3 separate regions of the Homo sapiens genome follow, and all the other regions are linked to region 3. Evidence: promoter capture Hi-C in 16 types of primary human blood cells and fetal thymus (Javierre and others, 2016). All regions are on one chromosome and are shown on one strand. Each heading gives the region's core, a stretch centred on a gene start or on the middle of the fragment in contact. The rest is flanking DNA. Distances are from core to core; before and after follow the strand shown. Region 1 overlaps DIXDC1 (DIX domain containing 1). Region 2 holds the start of C11orf65 (chromosome 11 open reading frame 65). Region 3 holds the start of DYNC2H1 (dynein cytoplasmic 2 heavy chain 1).

What was found. Contacts are between HindIII fragments. The CHiCAGO score rates a contact against its expected background, and 5 or more counts as called.
Region 1: a contact is called between a fragment that was not itself captured here and the fragment with the promoter of DYNC2H1 in region 3, in 1 of 17 cell types (total CD4 T cells). The highest score is 5.1, in total CD4 T cells.
Region 2: the fragment with the promoter of C11orf65 here is called in contact with the fragment with the promoter of DYNC2H1 in region 3 in 2 of 17 cell types (naive CD8 T cells and non-activated CD4 T cells); the score reaches 6.7 in naive CD8 T cells.

The regions. Positions count from the first base shown.
Region 1 is chr11:112,022,117-112,025,176 of GRCh38, reverse strand. It overlaps DIXDC1 (DIX domain containing 1), which reads right to left. Exons shown (of 20, transcript NM_001037954.4): 20 at 2,524-3,060. Among named protein-coding and RNA genes, the nearest start is that of DLAT, 1.8 kb to the left of the region's middle. RefSeq lists an enhancer at 618-807. The HindIII fragment of the contact is 1,386 bases long and covers 558-1,943 here.
Region 2 is chr11:108,465,758-108,468,794 of GRCh38, reverse strand. C11orf65 (chromosome 11 open reading frame 65) reads left to right here and starts at 1,266. Exons shown (of 9, transcript NM_152587.5): 1 at 1,266-1,324. RefSeq lists a cis regulatory region at 1,182 and enhancers at 1,110-1,254, 1,195-2,047. The HindIII fragment of the contact is 4,195 bases long and covers 1-2,102 here.
Region 3 is chr11:103,107,806-103,110,676 of GRCh38, reverse strand. DYNC2H1 (dynein cytoplasmic 2 heavy chain 1) reads right to left here and starts at 1,251. Exons shown (of 89, transcript NM_001377.3): 1 at 908-1,251. The coding sequence starts at 1,102. RefSeq lists enhancers at 1,419-1,468, 1,539-1,658. The HindIII fragment of the contact is 957 bases long and covers 720-1,676 here.

The DNA of each region.
Region 1 (3,060 bases), core at 1-2,500, 8.9 Mb before region 3:
CATCCGAAAGGGTGAGACGGGGCCTAAGAGATGACAAGGGCACGACCGAGGGGGAGGGGCCTAAAAAGGCGCAGAGACGCGGGTTAATTGCGGCCGAGTGGCCTGAGAGTCTGGGCCGAGGGGCGTGGCCAAGCTTTCTGGAAAAGCTGGAAGTGAGCCCGGGAACTGGCTAGGGCAGTGGGAGCCTCAGGCCAAAGGGCGGGGGTCTTGGAGTGCTGGGGTGGTGAAGGAGCCAGGAATCGCCCGCGAGGGAATCGAGGGGTCCGGCGTGGTGACCTCTGCTTCTGCGCATCCGAAGGGGGATGGACTGGGCCGCGCCCCGCGCAGGCTGTACTGGTTGCAAAGATTTCGTTTCAGGTTTGTAGCCCAAGTGGAAAGTGGAGTGAACAGGTGTTCCACCCAGCCAAGTGGTAACGAAAGGCAGCCCAGAGGAAGATACATTCCCGCATTCATGTATACTGTAGCAAGATTAAGCATATTCCCTGTATGAAGATATAGGTTTACAAAACAGGTGTTGCTCCCTAATACCATAGAATTCTTTTAAGTAACCAAAAGCTTCGTTATGTTTCAAATGTTTGAAAAACTTAACTGTAAGCCGTTGAAGGCATGAAGAGTGTCTGCGTGGTCCTTCCATGTAGCCCCAGAGCTTAATATCCAGTAAATAGCGGGGGCTGAATGTATGTCTTTTGAATCAATGAATAAAAAGTCATCTACACATTTTGTTAGGCACGCTTCTCTTGTAAAGTTGTCTTTTAATTAGAAAACATATCGTTTCTGAACTGAAGGTGACATTAGATAAGGAGGAAGCATGTGCTGTGTATCACCACCTCCCCCCTGTAGAGATGGTTAGAGAACACCAAGAACGCAAGAGGAAGTTGGAGGGAAGAAACTTAAAACAAGATTTTAGCCAGGAGCGGTGGTGCATGCCTGTAGTCCCAGCAATGCTTGAGAGGCTGAGGTGGGGGAATCACTTGAGCCCAAGAGTTTGAGACCAGCCTGGGCAACATAATGAGACTCCCATCTGTTAAAAAAAAAAAAAAATGGGGGCTAATCTTGCTAACAATTAATTTGGAAAACTAAAACAGATTGGATGTACTATTTCATGCCTACTTAAATTGGAATGTTTAAGCAGGTACAGCTGTCTATCAGAATAATATGTAAGCAATATAATTGAGAAATATAAAATTTCTAGATTGAATGAAAAGGCATATTTTAAATAATATGAAGAGAGCAATTATATTGTTACAATTATGTACAACTTATGAATTAACAATTGGAAGAAGCAATGAAAGAATAATTGTAATTACTGAAAGGACTTATTACTATTATTTGGGGATGGAGTCTCACTCTGTCGCCCAGGCTGGAGTGCAGTGGCATGATCCCGGCTCACTGCAACCTCCACCTCCCAGGTTCAAGCGATTCTCCTGCCTCAGCCTCCCGAGTGCTGGGATTACAGGCACGTGCCACCATGCCCAGCTAATTTTGTGTTTTTAGTAGATACGGGGTTTCACCATGTTAGTCATGCTGGTCTCAAACTCCTGACTTCAGGTGATCCACCTGCCTCGGCCTCCCAAAGTGCTGAGATTACAGGCGCGAGCCACCATGCCCGCCCAGGACTTATAAATTATTATAAAAATGTTTTTGAGTTGGCTAAAATATCTTGCTGCTTTTGCTGCATTTGAACTTAATAACTGGATCTAAATTAGACTTTGGTATAAAGTATGAGGTGATCTTCCGGATCTGTTGTGCACTTAGGTATGCTTGCTTAAACCCTGTTTTGCATTTTTCAAAGAATAGCGAGTTTGTGTCTTGAATATACTTTTGACTTAAGTGTAGTTAAATTATAGGAATGCATAGCTCAAACAGTCCAGAGATGGCGAGCTTACCCCAGAGGTGGGCTAGGAATGCTTAGGTTTCTCAAATCAGTCCTGAGAGAACAAGCTTGAATTCCACTAAACAGACTGGATAAAGGAAATTATGGAAAAGGAGACTCAAGACTCAAAGGTTTGAAATAGAGATACTTAAGAGAATGGTGATATCACTGATATTGAGAGAAACAGAAATTAGTTGGTAGTGAAAGATTTTGAGTTATGTACATATTTAATTTTAACATAATGGGATAGCCAATTAATAGTTGAAAATACGTAATTGGAAGTCAAATGAAGGCACTCAGGGATAAAGAATTTAATATAGCAAACATTTAAGATGAATTGATAAGAGGCATTTAAGAGGCAGCTTTCAAATGATCTGGGAATTCTGGTCATTTTAAATACACATTTCTGAAAGAGTTCTTAATGCTTGCATACTGACTTTTGTCATAGAGTTTATACTCTTGGGTTCTTATTTGTTTGCATGTTTACATATAATTTCAAAATAAGTGCTAAATAAATTGTCCTTGATAATAGCCTATGTGCTTACATAGAAATACTAATTGTAAAATATCTGTAGCAATAAAGTAATTCTTATCTCCACTCCACATAGTGAGTAAACATGCTACCAGGGAGATCACTTGAGGAAATTTGCTTTCACTAAATGTAAATGGCTTTATTGATTAATCTCATCAGTAAACGCAAGTGAAAATCATTAATGATATTTAGTTTGCAAACCCCATTTTATTCATAGTTTGTGGTTTTTTAAATTAGTTCACAAATCTGGTACATACCGGCAGTTAAAACTGGTTATCACTTTGATAATCAGAAGCCTCTGGTGTAACATAGTCTTCATGAAAACATATTGTAAAACAGGGAGAATACACAGTAATAATCTCTTTGAAAGCAATGGCTGTAAACATCCATGTTTCTAAGAAAATATAACTTTACATATATATGTATTTTAAGCAAGCTATACCTCTTACATAAATTCAGACAGTAGAAGGAGTGTGCAATCATAATGCTTATTTTATGGAAACAGTGAAAATAATTTTAATTATGACCTAAATGCTTTTAAGTAATTAAAGTCCTCTTGAATTGGATGTATAGTATAAAGATATTTTCCCTAATTTGCAACCATCCTGGTCAAAAAGAGCTGAAAAGTTGGTCAGTAAGTAGAAGTGCCATTACC
Region 2 (3,037 bases), core at 17-2,516, 5.4 Mb before region 3:
TATTAGATTGAAAATTAAGATATACATAATGTTTCCATGACTATATTTTTACAGTTTATTGTTCATAACTACTGTGTATTAATGCATCAAGGCAACTACATAAAGAGGAACTGAAGCTCACCCCTTGCTTATGATTGTGATGATTTTAAAGAACTCTGGAAGTTCAGTGAGTCACTGAATTAACCTACCAAGAATTTTTTCTGTACAAATGTTTTCATTATACAGGGAAATTTCTCTTCAGGTGTTTCTTTTCCCTCCTTAAAAGTTTATCTTCCTTACAAACAAATTATATTCCATGCATGAACATAGGACGAACATAGCAAAACTGGGCAGTTCTGAACAAGATTTTTTCACATTGCAATAATCTGTGACCAACTAAAGCACTGCCAAAGTGTCAGACTCAGAATTCAAGCAAGTCAGACTTGCTTTAGATAAGCAGTGCTTGCATTATTTAAGGTCATTTGAAAACTCATTCAAGAGGTCGTCTGTTTTCACTTAAAGCAGTTTAGCTTAACCAGCTGAAGAGCTTACATTTAGAAATAACATTGGACTGCAAGTCACGTATTCTTTGACCTTGAGCAAGACCTGTCAAATAGCTAGAAGGATCAGTTGTCTCATTTTCAAATGAATAAATTAAACTAATTAAATAGGCCGGGCGCGGTGGTTCACGCCTGTAATCCTAGCACTTTGGGAGGCCAAGGCGGGAGATGGGGTAGGGGGGGATCGCTGGAGCCCAGGAGTTCAAGACCAGCCTGGACAACATGGAGAAACCCTGTCGCCACTATTAATAAAAATAGAAAAATGAGCCTGGCGTGGTGGTGCACTCCTACGGTCCCAGCTACTCGGGAGGCTGACGTGGGAGAATCACCTGAGCCAGGGGAGTTCCAGGCTGCAGTGAGCCGAGATCGCGCCACTGCACTCCAGCCTCGGCCACAGATTGAGACCCTATCTCAAGAAAAATTTTACAAAAATTAATAGAAAATATTTCATTATATTTCTCAACATCTTTAAGGTTCTTGGTTGAAATGACTGGGCTTTATTATATACTAAGCCCAACTTCGTAGACAATCACTTTGCTTTCCCTTCCAAAATCCTTTGCCTCAAAGCCACTGACAATCGAAAGCGGGCTTCTAACAGAACCAGCAGCCTTCACAAGCGGTTGGTCTATATCCCCTGCACTTTGTCAGAGCGCGAATAGAGGAAAGGCGGGGCCTAGAAGGCGGGGCTAGGAGGGCAATGGGGCGGGACAGAACGGATTGAGTTACGTCATTTCCGCCTGCGACGTTACCTAGGAGTCCAGCGGCGCCCGGGCCAGCAGCGATTGGTAGGTGAAGGGAATAGTGTCCCTTCTCTCAGCGCGTACTACTGTTCCGGTAGCCTTTGTGCCCACTGGTTTGAGCCTTCGTTGTTTCAAGGCCCTAAAGAACCCATACCCTTGATACCATTCCCCATCCGCCCCTCTTAAGGACGTTTCATTCCTCTAAAGCCCTCCCAGCGAGGCCTCCAGCTGGTTTACAGTCCTGCCCGGGAGTAACCCCTTCCTCAGAGCTCCTTTCCTCGCCCTCGGTGAAGTTGCGTCGGGCTGGTTGACAAGTCCTTACTGCTCATACTGCGCCTTCACAGATCCCCACACCCCAATCCTCCGCAAAGATATTACTCCGTCCACCTTCCCGCTGACCGGGAAGTACACATTAATCTTCCTTAGATTTTTCCTCATTTCTTTCCTTTGCCCCCTCCCATTTGTTTTACGTCTTTTCAGTTTTTTTAGAGATGGAAAAGGGAAACGCGTTTTTAAAGAATAGGTTAGTTTTTCTTCTCCTGCCCCTAGCATCAAGGACCACAGGTAAAAAGGAAAAGCGAAATTACGAAACTTATAAAGGCCACGCGAATCATTTGTTTATTCAATAAATTTAGTAGAGGAAACAAAATAGGACGTATACAGGTTCCAATTCAAGCAAAGTAAAGATTGTTTGCTGCTTTAAAAGTGAAACCAAGAATCCAAACACGTCTTGTGGGCTTTTTTCCACGAAGCGTAAAAATAAATAAGTGAAAACATCATCTATTATGATAAAAAATTTTATTGATTAGGGATATAATAAGCTTGGAAAATACTTATCTGTGAATCTACAAGTGGCACATGGGTGTAGTAAAATACTTCATTGCCTGAGCAGTTGTTTGATAGTACATTTTATTTGGTTAGTTTTTTGTTGTTGTTTGTTTTTGAGAAGGCATCTCGCTGTGTTGCCCAGGCTGAGTGCAGTGGCGTGATCTCAGTTCACTGCAACCTCTGCCTCCTGGGTTCAAGTTATTCTCCTGCCTCAGCCTTCCGAGTAGCTGTGACTGCAAGTGTGCGCCACCACACCCAGTTTATTTTTGTATTTTTACTAGAGACAGGGTTTCACCATATTGGCCAGGCTGGTCTCAAACCCCTGACTTAAGGTGATCTGCCCACCTTGGCCTCCCAAAATGTTAGGATTACAGGCCTGAGCCACCAGACCCGGCCTGGTAGTACATTTTAGTATCTTAAAACTTATGAAGGGTTTTCACAATGGTTATTTTATCTGGAGCATCATAATAACCATATAAAGTCGATCTTATTTCTTATCTAAAGCCAGCAACGGTCCCACCCTCCTTTCTGCTCCAGATGGTGTCCTCTTACACCTACTCAAAGGTTTTACCATTTAACTTATCCCTTTTTTTGCCCCTTTAAGTTCTCCGTCACTTTAATTTCTCCCTCACTACTGGATGGTACATTTTAACATGCTTTAGAATCTGTCGTTTTTTGTTGTTGTTGTTGTTTTTTTTTTTTTTTAGACCGAGTTTCACTCTTGTTGCCCAGGCTGGAGTAGTGGCATGATCTCGACTCACCGCAACCTCCGCCTGCCAGGTTCAAGCAATTCTCCTGCCTCAGCCTTCCTGAGTAGCTGGGATTACAGGCATGCGCCACCACACCCAGCTAATTTTGTATTTTTAGTAGAGACGGGATTTCTCCATTTTGGTCAGGCTGGTCTCAAACTCCCAACCTCAGATGATCCGC
Region 3 (2,871 bases), core at 2-2,501:
CTTCTGTGTTTTTCTTTTAGGCTTATATATATAAGCCCTGATTGCAAATGCAACCCATTTTTTAAGCAATCCTGCCAGTGGAGGGAGCAGTGCAATTAATAAATCAGTATATCACATGATGTACACCAAAAAAGAATTCAAACTTTATTTTGAAATATATCATTTCACAAAAATTTAAATTCCTAACTAATCTTTCCCTTGGGCAATGTTAAAATCAGAGCCTGATCCAAAAAAGATAGACTAGAATTTGCCTTCCCCCCAAAAAAAAAACTCAAAAAGGGGAGAGAAAAAAATAAAAATAACTAAGTAAATGTTTTCTTTTTAGTTATAACGTATCTGCAGTCTTTCTTAAAAAGTAGAATATAGGCCGGGCGCGGTGGCTCATGCTTGCAATCCCAGCACTTTGGGAGGCCGGATCACTTGAGGTCAGGAGATGGAGACCCACATGGCCAACGTGGTGAAACCCCCGTCTCTACTGAAAATACAAAAATTAGCCAGGCGTGGCGGCGCGCGCCTGCTACTCGGGAGGCTGAGGCACGAGAATCGCTTGAACTCAGGAGGTGGAGGACGCAGTGAGCAGAGATCGCGCCACTACACTCCATCCAGCCTAAGCGACAGAACGAAACTCCGTATAAAAATTTAAAATAAAACACAATCTAATTGCTTCTATTCAGATGTATGGAAGGGAAACATGCTTCGGTCAGGTAGGATGCAAAGCTTGGAAACTACCTGCTTAAGCACGAGGCCAACGCATCTAAGCCAATAATGCAGGAGAAGTGGAGACAGCCTTGGGTTCCTGAAAAGGATCTGGTTGGTAAAGCTAAAGAGTGTGACCCGACGTCCCTCTGGCTGGGCCTGGGGACTTGAAGAGTGGTCAGGGGTCAGGCAGGAGTGCAAGGAACCGTACCGTGTTGGAAAAGGAGATTCCTGCGTCGGATCGCTGCACCCTGAGGAGCATCTGGTTGCCGTCATCCAAGAAGTTGTTGATTTCAAGACAGTTGCACAACAGTGGCTGATCCCAGAGTTCAGACATCAACCCGAAGTAATTCTGGGTAGTAGTGAAGATGAAGAGCTTCCGAACGTCCGCAGTCCCGTTCGCCATGATTGGAAGGGGTGGAGGGAAGTTGGGGGAAGGGGGAAGGAAGAAGAAACCAGTCCGGAGGGAAGTGAAGGGAAGAGAGGAGCTTTGCTCAAACCCGTAGCCCGACCGCGGGACCGCAGAGCTTCGCGGTTGCCAGGGGTAGTCGCTATGGCGACGGAGCACTACGGCGGCGTCGCTGGCGGCGCGCGGTGGGCGTTGCCCTCTCGGGGCACGCGCACGCAAAGCTCGCGGAGGCTATCGACCGCCTCGGAGCTCTTCAGCGGCTCCCTGCGGTCATCGATTGTAAGGGGTTCGGACAAGTTTATGTTGGCTCTCAAACATGTCTTTTATTCTTCTTACTGATTTCTTATCACGCATAATCAGAAGAGAGACATCTAGCCTTCAAGTACAGCAGCGTGATCTAGATTTAGGAGAGCTGGGTTCCAGTGCTCGCTCTCCACGTGCACCTGGTAGCAAACCAGTCTGTCAGCGTCAAGGTACACATCTGTTAAGAAGGGGAAATACTATCTCACAACCAGGGGTGTAGTGCGGATTGTAAAAGATTACTATTTAAAAATCGCTTTTTAGAGAAGCTTATAAAGACTAGGAATTCAATACAATGTTAATTTACTTTCTCAGTCGCCCTCTGCTCCTTTCTGTGCTGCTGCATTTCCCAACATCGTTTTTTCTATTATTAATTTTAGAATAATTTAACCAGCAATTTTTTATTGCAATCATTACCCGAGCACAACCATATTTGTAAAATAGCTAAAATGTAAAATGATACTTTTTAGTTTATTTTATAACAACCGCAACCAAATTCTGTGAAAATACAGATATGAAAACGGTCTTTGTCATTTTCTACTTCATGGCATTACTATAAACTACTAAATTGCTGGTCATTCATCCGAACATTCGTCAAACACTTTCTCAATTCAGTAATTCTCTTCTAAAAATATTTACTACATGCTATTAGGTTGGTGCAAACGTAATTGCGGTTTTTTGGCAAGAACTGTAATTACTTTTGCACCAATCTAACACAATTTGCCAAGTACCGAACTAGGCCCTGGGGACACAGTTCCTGCCCTCAGGAAGTTTTTGCTGTAGTCATTCATCACCTCAGCACTGGTTTGACCCAAGATCCTAGGGTACACAAACATATGCAGATTTTTTTTGTTTGCACTTAATAATCATAACCTCCCCTTAAAACTATACTATTTGAGAATTGGAAGGAGAGAGTCCTTTTATTTGCTGAGCAACTTAAGATTTTGGAGTGGGAACTTAAAAAAGCTGAACTGCTCTAAATTATAAAAGGAAATGAATGTAAATTCTCATGAAATATCCAAACAGTGAGAGATGGGAGTCTGGCCACTGGATGGGAAAACATCCAAACAGTGAGGTGGGATGCTGACCACTGGGTGAGGGAAAAAATCCTAACAGGAACCCAAGATGACTGTGTAGCTAATAAAAAGATTTTGAAAGCCAAAGTGACCACTATGGTTACAGAGTTTCCTGCTCTGCAATGAGCATTATCACTCTTACCAAGGTCTTCAGGAAAGTCTCCATTACCCACAAGTGCTCGGTTTGGTGAGTTGTTTTGGTGGAAATGTATGAAATGGCTGAATTGAGCTTCCATAACAATATGGTAAATAAAAAGGCAACACATGTAGGAAGATGAGTCTAGAAAGCAGATGAGATCATGAGTATGTGATCCTCCCAAGAATTTTTAGAACTCTTCAGGAAACTTAGGGCTTCCACAAACTATGAAATTGTGTTTGAATCAAGTTTAA